Linked DNA regions of Homo sapiens: region 2 is linked to region 1. Evidence: promoter capture Hi-C in 16 types of primary human blood cells and fetal thymus (Javierre and others, 2016). All regions are on one chromosome and are shown on one strand. The core of a region is centred on a gene start or on the middle of the fragment in contact, and the rest is flanking DNA. Distances in the headings are between cores, read along the strand shown.

What was found. The method cuts DNA at HindIII sites, captures the fragments that hold promoters and counts their contacts. A CHiCAGO score of 5 or more calls a contact.
Region 2: a contact is called between a fragment that was not itself captured here and the fragment with the promoter of ACVR1C in region 1, in 1 of 17 cell types (total CD4 T cells). The highest score is 5.4, in total CD4 T cells.

The regions. Positions count from the first base shown.
Region 1 is chr2:157,626,695-157,630,125 of GRCh38, reverse strand. It overlaps ACVR1C (activin A receptor type 1C), which reads left to right and starts at 1,262. Exons shown (of 9, transcript NM_145259.3): 1 at 1,262-1,554. The coding sequence starts at 1,482. RefSeq lists a silencer at 1,318-1,547. The HindIII fragment of the contact is 11,498 bases long and covers 742-3,431 here.
Region 2 is chr2:157,282,127-157,285,145 of GRCh38, reverse strand. It overlaps GALNT5 (polypeptide N-acetylgalactosaminyltransferase 5), which reads right to left. Exons shown (of 10, transcript NM_014568.3): 2 at 698-864. Among named protein-coding and RNA genes, the nearest start is that of GALNT5, 26 kb to the right of the region's middle. The HindIII fragment of the contact is 3,733 bases long and covers 1-3,019 here.

The DNA of each region.
Region 1 (3,431 bases), core at 13-2,512:
AAGATCCTCAGGATGCCACCCACATCTCAAAGTCCAACAACCATCTCATCTCCCATACTGTGATCCTTTGATAATAAAGTCAATTACATACAACATTTCACCATAGGTCTTTCATAGAACTTAGAACACCTAGCATATAATTTAGTCCTGAGCTAGGTGAAGAAGCAAGAAATGTTTTACTCTAAAGCAATTTTTATGACGCTATCACTTTTCAAGGAACCCCCAACAGTAGTAATAACACCAGTATTGTATTCTTGCTTTTTCGCGTTGTTCAGATTGAAATAATCCCATTCACTTTAATGTTCAGGCTCCATAGGTGAATTGAATTTAATTTCTATAAATTGGTAATGTTGCCGTTGTCCTTATATTTTCAGGCACAATCCAGGCCTTATATTTTCAGGCACCCGTTTGACAGTTAGCCTCTAGGGATTAAACAATACTCAAACAAGTTTTTCATATACTACTTTAAACAATTCTTCCCCTTCCCTTAATCCGTGTGTGTGTGTGTGTGTGTGTGTGTGTGTGTGTGTGTGTGTGTATGTTCCCTTAGTTCTTCAATTGCTGAAGTTGTAGCTGCCGAAATTATCTTCCATAGGTGAGGTCTTTTACCACCAGACGTGGGTCACACATTGTAGATGGCCACATCACCTGGCGCAGGTGGTCCAGCTTTGGTCGCCATTCATAGAGGGAAGGGTTCCCAAAAGGCACCCAAGAAGAGATGAAGTTTGTTAAACCAAAGCTTATAGGTCCAGAAGGCAGTCGGACAACTGGTCATTTCCAGGGATGAACAGAGAGGGCGCCCTTCCCCAGAGGCACAAATGGCCAGGACGCAGGGGTGGGACAAGCCAGTAGGAAGCCCGCGGGGCTCTCACAGCGCAACCTGGTTGGACTTAAGGACCCTGGACAACAAACGTCAGGAGAGCTAGGAGGCTGGCTCTTCTGCGGGAGGTTATAGAGCGGATCACCTGGGCGCAATCGCCGCGTAGTTGAAGTTTCCCTAAAGTCTCAGTGGGGCTTTTCCTCCCGTGAGAAGCCCCATTCCTGAGTATCTAGTCCCGGAGGCTCCGCACTGCTTCCCCACGCCCCCTCTTTCTTCGCCCCAGCTCTGGGCGATCTCACTGCCGGGCACAGGGCCGCCTTTGCCTGCCTGCCCTGCAGCAGCAGGCCCGGGCGGCTGCGAGAGGGCGCAGGGGGCGGAGGCGCGGCAGGGGCGGGCTCTGCCGCCCGCCCCACCACCCGCTCCCCGCCCGGCTGCGGGGCCAGTGGCAGGAGCGCCGCGCACCGCCAGCCGCAGGGGGCGTGGGATGGGGGCGGCCGGGGAGGGGGGCGCCCACACTGACTAGAGCCAACCGCGCACTTCAAAAGGGTGTCGGTGCCGCGCTCCCCTCCCGCGGCCCGGGAACTTCAAAGCGGGCCGTGCTGCCCCGGCTGCCTCGCTCTGCTCTGGGGCCTCGCAGCCCCGGCGCGGCCGCCTGGTGGCGATGACCCGGGCGCTCTGCTCAGCGCTCCGCCAGGCTCTCCTGCTGCTCGCAGCGGCCGCCGAGCTCTCGCCAGGTACGGTGCTGGTTTCTCTCCCGACGCCCGCGAGGGTGGGAGCTGGGAGGAGGTCTGCGGGTGAGCACGGGGGTGGGGGACAGGGGGTGCTCCGAGCAAACTGACCTTCGGGGCGGACAGGGAAGCGCCAGTCGGATTGAGGGGGCGCGGGATAGGGTGCAGCGTGGGCACCTGACGTCTGGCAGCCGTAGGGGTAGACAGGTGTGTTGGGGACGAAGCCGCCCGGAAGAGGGAAAAGGCAGCAGGGACGTGGGGGAATAAGTAGTAGGGGTGAGGTGGGTGACTAATTTGTGGGCAGTTTGCAGCGGAGAAAATAGGAGAGCGTTTGTGGGTGCGCGCATGGCTGGGAGCTGGGTTCACCCTGCAGGGACCTGGAGGGCTGCAGGTATGCGTCGGACGCGCTCTGTGCTAAGCCCCTGAGAGCTGCTCAAGGATGGTGGCATGGTGGTGGTGGGAGGTGGTGATTTAGTCTGAGTTTTAGGAGGCGGGGAATACCCCAAAAGCCGCAGATGCCAAGCTATGGAGGCGAGAGTGGGAGCTTAAATCTGTGTGGTTTGCAACGCACATTGCTTTCGAGGTACGATCTTTACTCAGAGTTCCTGGGGAAAAAAATTCTGGCAAGCGCCCCAGAGTTTATAACAGGTCTGTGCCTTGATAGGCTAAATAGAGCCCTCTACCCAATCTAGAAGCCAGACGTTTCTTTATAATGTTTACTAGAAAGTGGGGCAAATGCATCTTTGGTAAAATCATAATATGCTGTGACTAAAAGCCCTTTACCTCGAAAACTATTTTCATTACATTGTCCTGGATTATGCAGAGGAGGAGCAGATTCTTTGCTAACTCATTCTTTAAAAATTTCTATCAGACATTGAAGACATTTGCACATAAAAATCTGGTGTTTTCCCATAGAGCTGTGTTTTGTCCGAAGCTGATTTTGATGCATTTTGTTTTCCCAGATGACAATCTGTTTGACATTAATAGCTATATTCATGGTGGGTCGTTTTCCTCTTAGTGACATGTGCAAGAGAATGATTTGAATGATATGATTGCTGTCATGTACAGATTTCAGTGTTTCAGATGGCCTGAGAGAATCACTAAATACAATATTCAAATATAAATTTGATTATTGAAAAGGATTAATTGACAAAATCTGAGGATTAAAACATTCCAGTTATCTTTTAGGAAAACAGCCCAAGACTGTCGGAAAGATGATGGGATAAAGTGAAATATTTGCATTTAGAGTTAATAAATTTATAAGTGGGAGAAAACCAACTATGGGAAAGTCTTTAAAAAATGGGTGAAAACTCTGCTAACTTGGGATACTGAAAGTGCTCTTGACAATTTAATAGAGTTTACAAAAAAAAGTCTTCAAGGTATCACAGTTTTGATGGGGTGAAACTGCCTCTGGAGGCTGTCTGTACAACTCTTTTTATTTGGAGGAGCTGATAACTTGGCTGCACACATTTCTACAAAACAGATTCAATTTTTTTAAAATGTAGCTTCAAGGGTATATTTTGTTGTATACCCAGAATCTTTAGAAAATTTCAGAGACCTTGAGCATAGCAACATGCCTCATGTTCTTGAAAAGGCATGGAAACTTTTGACATTGAAATATGCAAAAAATAAAAAAAAGATAATCCATTCAAAGTCGCTCACTTAAAATTTGAAGTCTAAGAAAAATGCATGATATGGAATAATATAGTAGAGATGTATTTATTGAAGCTGAACTTTTATGAAAAACTTTTCTATGTCAAGTGCAATCATTTTCAAATCTCCTTAAGAAGTTTTTACCCCTCTGTGTCCCACGTTAACAATGTATATTGCTACTTATAGTATTTATTCTTAACTTTATATAAAACTCTGGCTATTTAGTAGAA
Region 2 (3,019 bases), core at 400-2,899, 350 kb after region 1:
CTGTTCCATTAGCATTGCCAAGTCTTTGCTATTTTCTAAACTTTTCTGAAAAATGGGTTCCATTTGGGAATTTGTAATGTGGCTGTCAGACCACCTACATACACAGGTTATTTGACAACCCAAAGAGTGAGATTCTTCACTGTAATAAGCAAAAATGAACATAAAGGCTATGGTGGATTCTGGTTTTGAACTTTGTTGGAATCACCTCATCTCTCTTGTCCTATTGGCAATTTGTCTTCTTAACACTTAACTGAACACATCATATGCCTTGCTCTCAAGGAAGAAGCCATAAGATCTTAATTTCTTTGCCTTCCATAGAGTCTAACTGTAACTCTAGTTATTACCAGTAGGCAAGGCCTCCCGTTAATTGTGATTCCATTAAAAGGGATTTGTGCAATTGTAGAGGACATCTAAACTCCACTACTTCTAAGTGCCCATCTCCAAGGAGCCATAGTTAGATCATTCCAACATGGTAGCAGAGTTACAACTGAGACAACTAACTGAACAGAGCTCCAGATGACTTTTAACGTCCATAGATGCTTAGACTTATGTCTCTGAGGCTCCACGTAAAACAAAGCATTTGTACGATGTTTATGCTTCATCAAATTATCCTATAATTTTGCCATCCAAACTGCTACTAAACTTTGCTTCTGCCAAACTTTGAAATTTCAAGAGATAGCCTGAGTGGTTTTCTTACCTTTGGTGCTGAAGTCATCTACCAGCAGAATCTCCTTGATGAGGTGTGGAGGAGAGCGATTGATGACACTGTGAACAGATCTCAGGAGAGTGGACCACACTTCATCCACAAAGCACATGATGACACTGGTGGTTGGGAGGTTATTGTGAACTAGCTGCTCTGCACATCTGGGCCAGAATATAAGCAGAGCACAAGAGATGTGCTAAGGAGATCCACAAGATAGTTTTAAAAGTCACAGAGTGCGATGGTGTGCATATACACACACACTTAATCTGTCATCGATCTGTCTGGTCTATCTATCATCTATTTATATATACCAATGATGATTTTATTATTTATCATGTGCCTTTTTTTGGGGAGGGGTACATGCAAAATAAAAAAGCAGAAGAATTACCCGTAACCGTGGTTGTTATAAAAGGACTAGAAATGCAAGACATGAGAATGTCCCATGCAGACATCACACTGCAGTGGAAAGGACAGGGTTTACAGGTAGTTAGACTCTATTTCAAATCTCATGGCCAATATTTCTCAGGTCTTTAACCATTAATGCCTTCTTTAACTTCTCTGTGCCTCAGTTTCCTCATCTGCAGAATGAGGTAATAAATGGTTCTTATTCAATAGAGTTTTGTAGCCTAGTGATAATGTACATACAAAGCCTAGCAGGGTTCCTGGCACAGGAATTTATGAAATGGTAGTTATTGCTATCATTACTAGATTATATGCTAGAAGATAGCATTCTGACTTATTTAATGTTCCCAAGTGGTTTATGATTGCCTTTCCAACTGGCTGTCTGCCAACTGCCATGGGATTTATTCTTTTCTCCCATTCTGCTTGTGTATGTACTTATGGCATAATATATATGTGCCAAATAATTAAACTCTTTTTAGCTTCCGTATCCGGGGCTTCCTTGCTGATACTCTGCTACAGAATAGCCACAGTTGAAAAACCATTTTGCTGGCATAGGAATGCAATCCAGGCTACAGTGGGAGTTAGTATTCAGGTGGGTTGCAACTGGCCTGGGTTTTTTCCCATGCCCTGCAGAATACACTGCCTCACTGCTGGCATTCTTTCACCCCCTGCCTGTGCCACTCTTCATAAGCAGTGCCCAGTGGAACCTCACAAAATGTATTTGCCATCTTACTAACACAGCTACTGTCAGTAATGTGATAATTAATGATGATCATAAATATTATAAGCATTCTATATTATTTCAATGTCGACCTCAAATTACCAGCATCTCTTTCCCTTTTTATTGGTGAATAATCAAAATCATGGAAAGACTAGTCCATGATTCTGCAGTTAGTAAATGGCAGAGCTGGGACTCGAACACTGATCCAGTCTGGCTCCAAAAGTAACCATTGAGGAAGCCTTAGATCCACAAGAATAGAAGCAGCTGGCAGTAGATGCGACATTTTGTGAGAGCTGGCACTTCTGCCAAATAACATGGTTATACTTTACTTATTCCATAAATAAGAAATAGGTAAGAGCAAAAACGATAGTAAAGCAAATCACATTTGCATGACACTCTAGTGTTGCCAAAGTGCTATTCTGTACATAATTGAATTCAGTCTTCATAACAACTGCTTGAGATACATATTATTATACACTTCTTCAAATCTTGGGAAGTTAAATGACTTACCCACATCATCCACCTAGATAGGATATATAAGGAAATATGAACAAATAATGTTTTTACTTTACTGCTGGTTTTTTTTGTAGAATGGGCTTTGGAAATAGATATGTGCTCAAATATCAGTTTTTCTAATTACTGATTTGGAACAGCTTTACTACTTCTTTGAACCTCAATTTGCCAACTACAAAGCTGAAATTAAACATGTACCTATAAGATTACATATAAACATTATGTAAAACTCATCTAATATATATCTGACACATAGGGGGTACTTAAGAAATGGTAGACAAATCCAGCTGTGCTTCATAATTTCAATGGTTTCCTAGATGGTTGTTTATCATAATAATTGACAAAGCCTTAGAAAAACATAAATATCCAATCCTCAGCCCCAGAAAATCAATTTACAAGGTTTGCTGAGGGCCCAAGAATCCATGTCTTAAAATACAAACAAATAAAAGAAAACACAAAGAAACCAACCCACCAACAAACAAAAGAATGACTCACAAATCATTGATTGGTGAGTTTAAGAACTTGAGCTCAAGATAAAGTTAATTTATTCTTATTATTTGAGGCTAATATTAAAAAAAATAAATTGACAGCTGATAGGAGCATGTCCTAAATGTTCAAGTGACAGAGAATTAAAATAACACATTTTGATTCACTATCTTCATGTAGTGATCAGGTATCTA